Regions from separate parts of the Homo sapiens genome. Here regions 2, 3 and 4 are each linked to region 1. The links are contacts of gene promoters, found by promoter capture Hi-C in blood cells and fetal thymus (Javierre and others, 2016). All regions are on one chromosome and are shown on one strand. The core of a region is centred on a gene start or on the middle of the fragment in contact, and the rest is flanking DNA. Distances in the headings are between cores, read along the strand shown. Region 1 holds the start of LAS1L (LAS1 like ribosome biogenesis factor). Region 2 overlaps AMER1 (APC membrane recruitment protein 1). Region 3 has its middle 93 kb from the start of EDA2R. Region 4 has its middle 75 kb from the start of EDA2R.

The links. Contacts are between HindIII fragments. The CHiCAGO score rates a contact against its expected background, and 5 or more counts as called.
Region 2: a fragment that was not itself captured here is called in contact with the fragment with the promoter of LAS1L in region 1 in 2 of 17 cell types (naive CD8 T cells and total CD8 T cells); the score reaches 6.1 in naive CD8 T cells.
Region 3: a contact is called between a fragment that was not itself captured here and the fragment with the promoter of LAS1L in region 1, in 5 of 17 cell types (non-activated CD4 T cells, naive CD8 T cells, total CD4 T cells and 2 more). The highest score is 8.2, in non-activated CD4 T cells.
Region 4: a fragment that was not itself captured here is called in contact with the fragment with the promoter of LAS1L in region 1 in 1 of 17 cell types (neutrophils); the score reaches 5.7 in neutrophils.

What each region holds. Positions count from the first base shown.
Region 1 is chrX:65,533,285-65,536,582 of GRCh38, forward strand. LAS1L (LAS1 like ribosome biogenesis factor) reads right to left here and starts at 1,503. Exons shown (of 14, transcript NM_031206.7): 1 at 1,196-1,503; 2 at 326-451. The coding sequence starts at 1,431. RefSeq lists an enhancer at 1,598-1,777. The HindIII fragment of the contact is 19,270 bases long and covers 1-3,298 here.
Region 2 is chrX:64,192,614-64,195,911 of GRCh38, forward strand. It overlaps AMER1 (APC membrane recruitment protein 1), which reads right to left. Exons shown (of 2, transcript NM_152424.4): 2 at 1-771. The coding sequence starts at 673. Among named protein-coding and RNA genes, the nearest start is that of AMER1, 11 kb to the right of the region's middle. The HindIII fragment of the contact is 975 bases long and covers 1,333-2,307 here.
Region 3 is chrX:66,730,760-66,734,057 of GRCh38, forward strand. No RefSeq gene overlaps it. Among named protein-coding and RNA genes, the nearest start is that of EDA2R, 93 kb to the left of the region's middle. The HindIII fragment of the contact is 1,399 bases long and covers 1,072-2,470 here.
Region 4 is chrX:66,712,144-66,715,441 of GRCh38, forward strand. No RefSeq gene overlaps it. Among named protein-coding and RNA genes, the nearest start is that of EDA2R, 75 kb to the left of the region's middle. The HindIII fragment of the contact is 4,418 bases long and covers 1-3,298 here.

The DNA.
Region 1 (3,298 bases), core at 253-2,752:
TGGGTGAGGAATTCAAAGGTAAGAAAAAATATCAGACCACCAAGAGACCCACAGAGATCACCTGGTCTGAATCCCTTCCTCCACATTCCAAGATAGAAAGAAAAATGGAAGAGAAGGCTTTCAGGAAAAAGGAAGAAAAAGAGGAATGCGTTGACGAGGGTACCAAAAGCTGATAAGTCAAGCAATAATCACAGGCTGATCCACAGTGAGGTACACGCAGGGTTTTGCTTCAGGTAACACCTGAAGCCAAGTTTTGCTTATCACATGCCTCCCCTGCCTCCAGTCCCCAAAGCCAACCTCCACCCCTACCCCATGCAGGTCTTACCTGACCAATGCCATGCCATAGAGCAGTCTAAGTTCATCAGTGCCCAAGCCACCAGTTACATCCAAGAGCTTACAGCGTATCAGGTCAGCAGTAGAAGCCACTGCCAGAGGGAGTTCGTTGCCTGACCTAAAGGGTCACAGTCCAGCACCATCATAAAGAGCCCTTACACTGGTCCACCCTCCACCTCAGAACCTAGGTTGTTGCAGGCTACACCCATCATATTCTGGTTCAAGAGAGCATGAACAGACACAAAACAAGAAGGTGGGAGGAGACACGGTAATGTCTGTGGGATCCAACAGTATACAGGGCATGAGGAGCTGACTAGGCCGTATACAGGACACCTAACTGGTAGACTGTCCATCAACAGTTGTGTGGACACACCCCTTTCTTTCACCCCCAAATCAACTCATTGAGCTAGAGGAGCCCCTTATCCCTTGTAAGTCGGCTCCCAACTCAATCTTACCAACTGGACTGAGGCGCCCCACTCAAACACTGTCTTGCAGGCAAGACTTCCTCCCCATTGGAATCGGAAATCTACCCTAGGGTACTAATCTACTCCTTAAGCCCTGGCTCAGGCCTCACTAGTCCCTCCGGCATCCTCTCCAAGTTGGGAGAAAGTCACTTTTTGGAGGTAATGGGTAAACCTCACAGATATAACAAGAGAATTGTTGAGGCACAACCCCTTACTTTCCATTCCGCTAACGGGATTAGCGCAAGAGATGGCTGCCGCGTTCCCCCAGGCATTTGGGAGAGGGACAACTTTAGGCGACTTAGGGGAAGACTGGAGAACAGGGCCTTATAGAAACTCGACAAAGGAAGAGGTGCAGCGCCACCAGCACGCAGGCAAAAGGGCCGAACCCGCCACCTTACCTGCTCCTCCACACCGTGATGCGGTTAAGCGCGTACCGCTGCAACTTATGGTCGTCACAGAACAGATAAACCGTCACCTGGTCCCACTCGGCCCTGCTGAGCCAGGCGACCACGATGCCGTGGGCCGAGAGTGGCAACGACCCTTTCCCTTTAACGCACTTTCCGTACCACGCACTCCACACGAGATCCATCCCCTGGGAACCTAGACCTGGCCCGGCCCCGGATTCCCACGACATACTGAGCTCAACAACAGGCTCTGTGCCGCGCCGCTCCGCACAGCCTTCAGCTCAGCGTGCTACCCTCACTCCGAACCGCCACCGCACCAGCAGCCAATAGGAGAGCGTGACCCCATACGCAAGCCCGCCTTCCAGCGTCAGCATGGCCAATCGGAACGTCAGAATTGGGCGCCGACCTAATGACATGCGGGGTTAAAAACTCACCGGCCGGAAGTGTTCTTTTCACAAAGCAAACCCTCCAGGGGCAAGAGTTCAGCCTCTAGGTTCCGCCAATTTCCTGGTTGCTAACCGGCTTCTGTACCAGACCGGAAGCGGTATGTCTTCACTGCAAGAGGAATTTTATTTTGCTCCCCTCGGCGGGTGGCAGCTTGATTGTAGTCATCCAGTGAACTGAAAATGCGATTTTAAGTATATTTTTATTGCCGTGAATCAGGACCTAACCTAGTAAAACACTGGACACTGAAGCAGGGCTACAGAGGAAATATCTCATATCGAAACAGTTACAGTTGGGTTGAAAAAATCTGCTTTTGTGGCAGGTAACCAGGGGCCCTGCCTTTTAAATTAGTACCAGCCTGGCCAGGCGTGGTGGCTCACGCCTGTAATCCCAGCACATTGGGAGGCCCAGGCGGGCGGATCACTTGAGGTCAGGAGTTCCAGACCAGCCTGGCCAAAATGGTGAAACCCGGTCTCTAGTAAAAATACAAAAATTAGCTAAGCATGGTTGCACATGCCTGTAATCCCAGTTACTCAGGAGGCTGAGGCACAAGAATCGCTTGAATCCGGGAGGCGGAGGCTGCAACAAGCCAAGATCGCACCAGTGCACTCCACCCTGGGTGACAGATCGAGACTCTGTCTCAAAAGTAAATTAAATAAATACATACATAAATAAATAAATAAATACCAGCCTAGAGACCTGAGTTTTACTCTAAATTTTGCCACTAACTATGTGGACTTAGACTAGTCTCAGTTTTCCCATCTGTACAGTGAGAGTTGTAGACTGGTCTCTAGGTTCTCTGTCATAGCAGAAAATTGTAGAATTTTACTCTGCCAACATTCCACTGCTATGTTGGTTTCAACATCCACCAAGGTATACTTAGTTTTTCTGCAAAATTCCTTGGTATTTTGGAGTTCTGGGAGAAAAGCGGTATTATGAAGTTCCTCCGATTTTACGAGTTGACTGAAATATGTTTAGGACTATGTCCCAATCCTTCTTGCAGAAGTTATTTTCCAATGTAACACTTGAGAGAGAGAGAGAGAGAACTGTTGCTAACGATCTTAACAGCATTGCTGTGAGTGGCACTTTTACGCTTCACAGCAACAAATCCCAATTCATCCTCTATATGTGCTTCTTTCTCCAGCCAACTTTTCCTAAGATATAGTCTGCCTATAGTTATTTTATTTTTCTTTTTTTCTTTTTCTTTTTTTTTTTGACATGGCGTCTGGCCCAGTCGCCCAGGCTGGAGTGCAGTGGCACAATTCTCGGCTCACTGCAACCTCTACCTCCAGGGTTCAAGTGATTCTCTTGCCTCAGCCTTCCAAGTAGCTGGGATTACAGGCGCCTGCCACTATGCTTGGCTAATTTTTGTATTGTTAGTAGAGACAGGGTTTCACCATGTTGGCCAGGCTGGTCTGGAACTCCTGACCTCAAGTGATCCACCAGCCCAGGCCTCCCAAAGTGCTAGGATTACAGGCATGAGCCACCGTGCCCGGCCTGCCTATGGTTCTTGACTGACAGTTACTCTGTCCCAAGTAGCCATGCCAACCAGTTGGCCAGGTGTCTGCCTGAAACCAGATACCCTTTTTCCTTCAGGATCATGACAGTGTGCTGGCAAAGAAGTCTGGGGAGTGGTTTCTATGACTCCTCAAG
Region 2 (3,298 bases), core at 570-3,069, 1.3 Mb before region 1:
TAGGGGCTTGGAAGGTCTCCTCAAAGCAGGGCACCTGAGGGGCTGAGCTCACGTGCTCATGAGGCCTGGCTCTGACCCTCTCAGGCCCCTTGGCCCCTGGCTCACTTTGCTCAGCCCCAGTGACCTTGCTCTTCCGGTGACGGCGGATACTGCTAAAAAAGCCTTTTAGGCCTTTCTTTGGCTTGGGCATAGAGGGAAACTTCTCAGCCACAGCTTTCTCTGTGGCTCCAGCCACAGATGTCTTACATCTGGAGCCTGTCTCCAAAGCCCCATGGGCACTCTGAGAGCTGGGAAATTGGCAGGGTAACTCAGGCAAAGGCAGGGAGAAGCCAGTTCCTTCACTGACAACATCTTCAGGGCCATGGGCTGCTTCACTCAGGCCATCGTGGGTCTTGCTCTTGCTGAGACCTTTCTTGGAGCTGCCTTTCCCAGAACCTTTGCTCCGTCCCCCTCCAAAGAAACTAGGCAGAGTACAGATACCCTTCTTGCCACCAAAGAGTTTCATGGCAGTTTTCTTCAGCCTACCTGGGCCGGATGAGGATGGCTCTGAGGTTGGTCCTTCTGTCGCCTCAGCTGCCTTGTTCTTGGCTCCTTTTTCTGCTGTTTGTTCACGGGTACTCCCAGAGGCTGCAGCTCCCTTGGCCTGAGCAGCTTCATCCTTTTGGGTCTCCATGATGATGGGGACAACTGAGGTACGTCCAGCTGGAAATGCAGCCTCAGGCTTCCAGGCACTGTTATAACATTATCAGTCAGGAAGCATCACAGTGGGGTCTGGAGGAGATAGGAGAGACAAAGACAGAGAGACAGATACTAGTGAGCAAGCATCCAGGCTGGGTTTGCTTTCACCGGACGTCAGGCTTGAGTGGAACAAGAAAGAAAATGATGGAAAATGTGGGGCAAATCTTAATCCACTCGATATGCTTGGCTTGCTGGGCCAGCTCTCTCTGGGCCCCAAGGAAGCAAAACTCTACACTGAGCAACAAGAAGCCTTCATCCCCTACCTTCTTGCTGGGTCCACTCCCTTCAGACCATCCTAAGCTCAGGGGACCACTGGGCAGGGGGACCTGCAGTTGTGTGAAAGGCCTAGTGGTGCTATTGGCTGTGGGAGGTATTATCAATTATCAAAGGGGATGAGGATAGGGAGAGACAAGAAAGGCAAAAGGGATGTTGGCTCCAACATCACAGAATTTTTGAAAACCATCTGGCAAAACAGTCCATTGAGTCCTCACAGGGCTCTGTTGGATTCAAGCTTCAGTTTCATATTAGTCTGGGCTCTCACTGACATTTTGTCTGAGACTGAAAAGTGGACCTGAAGTTTCACCTCCCATCCAAAGCTTCCTAAATTGCCTGCAGAACCATGCTCAGGCTTCAGAATCTCAGAATAGGAGCCTCACACATCCACAAAGTAGGTCTGCAATCTAGAACCTGCTAAGACAATGAAATGGGAGCCTCAAGAAAGGTACTCTCTGGGCTTCAATATTCGCCATTCAAGAGGCCTATCAATATCTCTCCCTCAGAGAGGTGATATGAGGGTGGGTCTAAGCCAGACCCTCTATTGGCTGTCCTGCTGGGAAGATACTTTAATGCGGTCATCAATGGAACCCCAAATTCCACTTGAGAACCATGAGGTGGACTGTTTCTCCTCTACTCTCCTCCTCTTATTATTTTTGTCCCCATCTAGCTCCCTATCTAGGAAGGGAACTCCTTGAAGGCCCTACATGATTCATATTCCTGGTGTGTGAGATAGGTTCCCAATGGCTTTTTAAATAAATAAACCTGGTGCAAGCCACACCCTTCTGGTCAAGGCTCTCAATCCTCCAAATGCCCAAATACCAACAGAGATGGAATAAAAACAAGACCTAGCCACTACCCACCACAATATACCTCTGCACCTCTGGTCATCCGCTAGCTCAGTGACCAGCCTGCTAAAACCCAATGACCCCTCCCTGGGAAGTCCCTCACCAATTTGTCCCCTCTCTGTAGAGTGGCACCAGCAGATGGGGGAATCTGGGAGGAGAGGGGAGAGGGGAAGGGGAAGGGGAGGGAAGGAAGAGTAAGAGAGGGAGAGAGAAGCAAGCACCCTTGGTCCAAGAACAGCTGGACAGTACACCAGGCCTGTGATTGCTTGCCATAATAATAAGACTCACACATTCACCTAAAGTGGAAGACTGTGGACCAGCACTGAGCATGGAAAGAGGCTGGCAGCTACACTCTAGCCTTGGAGCCCCTGGTTCTGTCTTGCAAACATTAATTTTGTGCCTGCTGCCTTGCTTGGCTTGACACTTGAATCATCAGTGTGATGATCCAAGCTTCCATAAAGAACACTCTGCATAACTGAATATTAAAATTGGAGCAAGATAACAGCTGGTTATCCAGAAAAGAAAAGAGCAGGTGAAAAGGAAAGTTCATCTGAACCTCTCTCTGCAGAGATCTGAATTGCCATTTGCTCAGGTTAGAGATTTTTCTGTAACATATTTTGACATCACACTGTTCCAACTCAGCCCTGCAACTGATAGTCCCACAATAGACAGTGCCCCCTCCCACCTCCAAATACACACACAATCACACCTAAACACACAATCACCCAGTTTTCTGCCCCTGGGTCTGGTGGGAATAGGGGCCCTATCATGTCTGAATGCCCCACTTTCCACAGCACATTTTTACCTCAGCCTTAAAATTACTGCTAAGGTTATCGTCACGGTGTTGGGGATAGGGGAGTTGGGGAGGCAGTACTGGAGTTGTTTGTGAAATTCTATTCCCCTCTGGAATTCAGTGCTTCAGGGCAGGACAAGAAGGGAGAACTCCCAGCCTTTGCTTCTAAGGAGCTCCTAGGCTAACAGGGAGAGTCCTATATGTAACAGTCTGTTAGAAACTGGACCAAACAACAGGAAGTGACCGGCAGGCAGGAGGGCAAGGTGAACATTACCTGAGCTCTGCCTTCTGTCAGATCAGCAGAGGCATTAGATTCTCATAGGAGCGTGAACCCTATTGCAAACTGCGCATGCGAAGGATCTAGGGTGCACTCTCCTTATGAGAATCTAACAAATGCCTGATGATCTGAGATGGAACACTTTTATCCCAAAACCTTCCTCCTCTCCATCCATGGAAAAATTGTCTTCCATGAAACAGGTCCCTGGTTCCAAAAAGGTTGGGAACCGCTGCCTTAAAGAATAGCCCCTGTTATTTCTAAAGCTGGTTGGTGGAGTATCATTCTTTATACCTTGTAAACATATTCCAAGATAAATGTGAAAGGGAGAAAGACACTTCTTGGGCAGTAAGGCTGGGCCTCAAGGAAAAC
Region 3 (3,298 bases), core at 521-3,020, 1.2 Mb after region 1:
TCTGTAGGTTGTCTGTTTACTTCATTGATTAAGAAATTCCACAAAGTTTTGCTCTTCGTCTCTCTTTATGTACTTGAATAGACAACATCTATTAGCAGAGTGTGTGTCAGAGACAGCCCTTAGCACACTTATAAGGTTTATCTCATTGACTCTTTTCAGCATCTCTCTGAAGCATGTACTATTATTATCTCTATTTTACAGGTGAGAAAACCGATGGACAGAGAAATGAGGTAACTTGACTAACATCACACAGCTGGCAAAGAGCAGAGCTTCAATAGGAACTCAGGCAGTCTAATTCCAGAGGCCATACTCTTTTAGCCCATACATTTGTGTTGTTTTGCTTTGTGACTAAAAGCCAGACTCTAGATCTAGTTTTTCTGCTGAGTTCAAATTCCAGCATTACCACTTTCTAGTTGTGTGACTTTGGGCAAGTGACTTCACCTCTCTAAGCCTCAGTTTCCTCATTTGTGAAATGGAAGAACAATAGTAAGGCTGATGTGAAGATTAAATGAGTTATTTATGTAAAATACTTACAATAATGTTTGAAACCAGGTAAGTAGTATGTAAATGTCTCAGTTCCCCAGGCAAGATTGGTGGGAAATCAAAAGTCAGTCTTTTTTTTTTTTTTTTTCCTTGCAGCTTTCTAACATTACACAGAACTGCCAGGCTTAAACCAGGTTTAAGTAGTCCAGAAAAAAAAAATGGGTTATGTAGTCTTCAGCAGTCCCTCATGGCTGCCTTCTGGTGCTCACTGGTCATGTCCCAAGTGGTCCATTTCAAGGCTTTGTAATCCTTCAGTGCCAAGTCTCTAACAGGAGCTCACAATCTGATTTATTATGCTATACTGCCCCCTTCTGTGGATTATAGGTAATCAGTAACTATAGGGCTTACAGGCTGAGTTTCTCACATGCTTAATAAATGGTAGTGATTTTGTTTTATTAGCTTTAACGCTCACTCCTATTAGCGTGACTCCCAACCCTTAATGTTACCATGAGCAAACTAAAACAGGGAATAAGGGCATCTATCAAGGGCACATAAATAGTAAGTGATGGAAGTCTGGATTTGAATTCAAGCTTTGATAATTCTCACATTCCCAACTTTTAATTTTTATTGTATGTCTCTTTTTTAAATATTTCTGAATATGATCACATATAAGGACTGTCTATTTCCTACTTTAAAATCTTTTTCTCCTTTAGGAAGTCTTCCTGTATTCTGGCATATTATATTGTACTTCTATGTTGACTATTTTTAAGTTGTTTATGGAGGCGTGTATTATCCTCTATTTTTAGGTAGCTGAATAAAAAGAATGAGTTTTCCAATTCCTTGTTGAATTGGTTTCTAGAAAAAATGCCATTTAGTGAGAATATACTAAAATTCAAGAAACTCAGTTAAAAGGAGACTGGAGAAGAGCACTGAGATAAGTAACTCATGGACCCTGGTAAAGTATACTTGATAATAATAGGTGTTTAAAAAAGTCAACATCTCAAGAGCATGATTTATTTCTTATAAAAGATTACATCCCTCACAATCTAGCTCAATGCCTTATTTATAGTAAGAACTCAGGAAATATTTGTTGAATTGCCATTTAGAGTTTGCTGATAGGCTTCAGTCAATTTCAATCAAGTAATAATATATTTCCTCTGGATAGCTAGAAATGAAAATATTCTAATAAGAAAGATTTGCAGGTCATGAAAAATTTAACCTTTTACATGCAGACTTGTATCTTCATATTTTTAATAATAAGAATCACTGCAAAGTTAATAAGACAGTTCTGGGTTTTAATGTAGTAATAATAAATATGTAATGTTATTTGATTTTTCTTATTAAAGTGAGAGTCTTCTATAAGAATAATCATGAGGCATTGATAGAGGTGGAGTCAAAGATGTACATATAGCTTTGTGTGTCACAGCACTGATCAAATAATGAGTCTGAAGCTCATTATTATCATATATCATAACTTATTTTATTTATTAATGGTTTTGCCTCTCTTCTCTAAAAATTGAGAGAGATGTGGTTAAGTATAATATGGAAGACAGTAGCATAATTGTTTTCTATTTTGTAAACTTAATGGGTAAATCAAAAGCCAAGCAGCTGTTTAAAAAGTAATAATTTTATCTTTTAGAAAATCCTTATCAATATCAGATGTAAAGCAGTGTAATGAGAAGACCACTAAACTGGGAGTCAAAAGCATTTTATTCTGGTCCCAGCTCAACTTCTTGTTTGTGTGATCCCCTACTAGTTCCATGCTCTCCTCTCTGACCTTCAGTTTTCTCGTTTGTAAAATGAAGATTACAATGCCCATAAGGTTTTAGTGAGATTCAGTGAAACTGCTTTGTCAAAGTGTTGTACAAATTAGAAATAGTGTTATAGTAAGGCATCGGTAATGTTTTCTTTTTCTTGTCAAGAGTCTTCTAATGCTATCAGTTATTTTAACATCTGTAACATAAGACACCACATCAGTATCATTGTAAGCTTTAATCTACACTTGAATCACACCGGTATTAAGTCAATTGATGATATACAAAGGAGCAGTATCCATCATCACTCCAAAAAATTGTGCTGGTACATATTGGAGAGTGCTTGCTCTTAGCGTCCAAATTTATTTTTGTAAAAAAAAAAAAAACAGACATGCCTATAAACACAACACTAAGTTAAAAATTTCTATACGCCCTAGGTTTAATATGAAAGTCTACAGCCCTTTGCCTGTTTACTTCACTACAATGTAACAGCCTTTTTTCATTTCATAAATATCCTCTCATCTAATTCCACTCTAAATAACAGTGAGTTAGAACTATAATAATTCAAAACAGATTGCAAAGATAAATGCTTGAGAGGATGGAAACCCCATTCTCCATGATGTGCTTAGTTCACACTGTATGCCTGTATCAAAATATCACATTGCCCCATAAATACAAACACCTATTATGTACCCACAAAAATTTAAACAAATACTTAAGAAAACAGATTGCAAAACTAACAGGTGTACACAAGGAATACTAACATTACTATGTAACCATCATACCTTCTGATATCCACAGTATCCTTCCTATACTAACAATTTTGTACAGCTGTCTCTATAATACAAATAATTATAGAAATACAAGTTAATTGTACTTTAACACTGCAATCATGTAGAAAAGAATAAGTCTTTTGGATATTTTGTAGTTCTTTTTTCCTCCAGATGGAGATAGTCTGGTAAGACTCCTTGCTTCATGGTAGTAATCAAGGAAGGAAGTGTAAGAACTAAGACTTAAAGGATTAATTAAACATACATAATTGGAAGAAAAGACACTTCAGG
Region 4 (3,298 bases), core at 448-2,947, 1.2 Mb after region 1:
TAATTACATTCAGAATGCAATAGAACTGAAAATGAAAATAAATACACACTGAAGTGTGGCCGTCTAAGGCCTCTTCCTCTTTAATTGTGATCCAGATTGTTTGGAAGCTAGAAATGAGTGAATCAAGGTAGACTTAGGGCAAACAAGAGGAAGTGGTTCTTGACACAGTAGGATGTAAATTCAGGTCCTTGTTCCCCCAGCAAGCTGAACAGGTGGTGAATATTAATTGTCTCAATAAGAACTAGGAAAAACTTCAGGATGACATTGTTTTCACAGGCGGTTAGGGAAGTTTTAGGTGTGGGAATTATAAAGCATTGGAGGTAGCACCTGTCTCTACTGGGGCAGTGAGGGAAATCATGAGGCTAATGAGAGGAAGGATGTGAAAAGGTGAAGACACTTCAGAAGTCTTGTCTGAGAAGGATATGGTATACAGTTTACCTCATTTCATTTTAGTATTGATATATTCAAATTTCTCAATCATTTTCTCTATGACTTTTTGTGGCTTTGTCTTGAAAAATGATTTTTTTTCTTGTTAGAGCACTTACTATGGGCTAGGGACAGTGTGTGGAACTGGGGATGGATAAAGAGGCAAAAGGCATGGCCAGTACCTTCACATACTCACAGTCTACTTGGGTGACAGACATGTCAACAAATTATTACAATATAGTGTGTTCATGTAAACATGGAAGTATGTACAAAACAGAAATAGTAGAGGAAAGTAATAAACTGTCTGAGGGGGTAAGAAAATATTTCAAAGAGTAAGTTATGGCATGAATAAGGACAAACAGGAATTTACTAGGCAAACCAGGTGAGGACAAGGCATTATAGAAAAGAGAAACAGTAGGGTCAAAGGAACAGAAACACAAAATAGCAGGTATCTTCAGGGAATTGCAAAGGTCAAGGGCAGGTATGATGCCAAGAGATGGTCAGGACGGGGATATTATCTCGTACCTATAGAACCATTCAAATATTTCAAGTAAGGGAGTTACGTTGTTAGATCCAGGTTTTGGAGAGACCATTCTGGCAGCAGTGTGGAGAATAGATCTGGAGGAGTAGGTCGACAGAATCCACTGAGAATGCCATTGTAATAGTTCAGGCAATAGTAATGAGGGCCTGAAACTAGGCTGTCACAATGGAGACTCAGAAAAAAAGGAAAAATTTAAGAGCTAACGGGAAAATAAAAACAGAATTCCACCCCCTCCTTTAAAATCTCCTCATTTTTCTCTGCCTTTCATAGACAGCTGGCAGGGCTTCTCCAACTTTCATATGCTTCTCAACCTACTCTAACAGGGCTTCTACCTCCTGGCACCATCCAACTTCAGTTTTTGCAAGGTACCCAATGATTTTCATGTCAATAAAGCCAGTTGACATGTTTTTCAGTCCTCTTTTACTTCAGCTCTTTCTTTTTTTTTTTATTATACTTTAAGTTTTAGGGTACATGTGCACATTGTGCAGGTTAGTTACATATGTATACATGTGCCATGCTGGTGCACTGCACCCACTAACTCATCATCTAGCATTAGGTATATCTCCCAGTGCTATCCCTCCGCCCTCTCCCCACCCCACAACAGTCCCCAGAGTGTGATATTCCCCTTCCTGTGTCCATGTGATCTCATTGTTCAATTCCCACCTATGAGTGAGAATATGCGGTGTTTGGTTTTTTCTTCTTGCGATAGTTTACTGAGAATGATGATTTCCAATTTCATCCATGTCCCTACAAAGGACATGAACTCATCATTTTTTATGGCTGCATAGTATTCCATGGTGTATATGTGCCACATTTTCTTAATCCAGTCTATCATTGTTGGACATTTGGGTTGGTTCCAAGTCTTTGCTATTGTGAATAATGCTGCAATAAACATATGTGTGCATGTGTCTTTATAGCAGCATGATTTGTAGTCCTTTGGGTATATACCCAGTAATGGGATGGCTGGGTCAAATGGTATTTCCAGTTCTAGATCCCTGAGGAATCGCCACACTGACTTCCACAATGGTTGAACTAGTTTACAGTCCCACCAACAGTGTAAAAGTGTTCCTATTTCTCCACATCCTCTCCAGCACCTGTTGTTTCCTGACTTTTTAATGATCACCATTCTAACTGGTGTGAGATGGTATCTCATTGTGGTTTTGATTTGAATTTCTCTGATGGCCAGTGATGATGAGCATTTTTTCATGTGTTTTTTGGCTGCATAAATGTCTTCTTTTGAGAAGTGTCTGTTCATGTCCTTCGCCCACTTTTTGATGGGGTTGTTTGTTTTTTTCTTGTAAATTTGTTTGAGTTCATTGTAGATTCTGGATATTAGCCCTTTGTCAGATGAGTAGGTTGCGAAAATTTTCTCCCATTCTGTAGGTTTCCTGTTCACTCTGATGGTAGTTTCTTTTGCTGTGCAGCTCTTTAGTTTAATTAGATCCCATTTATCAATTTTGTCTTTTGTTGCCATTGCTTTTGGTGTTTTAGACATGAAGTCCTTGCCCATGCCTACGTCCTGAATGGTAATGCCTAGGTTTTCTTCTAGGGTTTTATGGTTTTAGGTCTAACATTTAAGTCTTTAATCCATCTTGAATTGATTTTTGTATAAGGTGTAAGGAAGGGATCCAGTTTCAGCTTTCTACATATGGCTAGCCAGTTTTCCCAGCACCATTTATTAAACAGGGAATCCTTTCCCCATTGCTTGTTTTTGTCAGCTTTGTCAAAGATCAGTTGGTTGTAGATATGTGGCGTTATTTCTGAGGACTCTGTTCTGTTCCATTGATCTATATCTCTGTTTTGGTACCAGTACCATGCTGTTTTGGTTACTGTAGCCTTGTAGTATAGTTTGAAGTCAGGTAGTGTGATGCCTCCAGCTTTGTTCTTTTGGCTTAGGATTGACTTGGTGATGCGGGCTCTTTTTTGGTTCCATATGAACTTTAAAGTAGTTTTTTCCAATTCTGTGAAGAAAGTCATTGGTAGCTTGATGGGGATGGCATTGAATCTGTAAATTACCTTGGGCAGTATGGCCATTTTCACGATATTTATTCTTCCTAGCCATGAGCATGGAGTGTTCGTCCATTTGTTTGTATCCTCTTTTATTTCCTTGAGCAGTGGTTTGTAGTTCTCCTTGAAGAGGTCCTTCACATCCCTTGTAAGTTGGATTCCCAGGTATTTTATTCTCTTTGAAGCAATTGTGAATGGGAGTTCACTCATGATTTGGCTCTCTGTTTGTCTGTTGTTGGTGTATAAGAATGCTTGTGATTTTTGTACATTGATTTTGTATCCTGAGACTTTGCTGAAGTTGCTTATCAGCTTAAGGAGATTTTG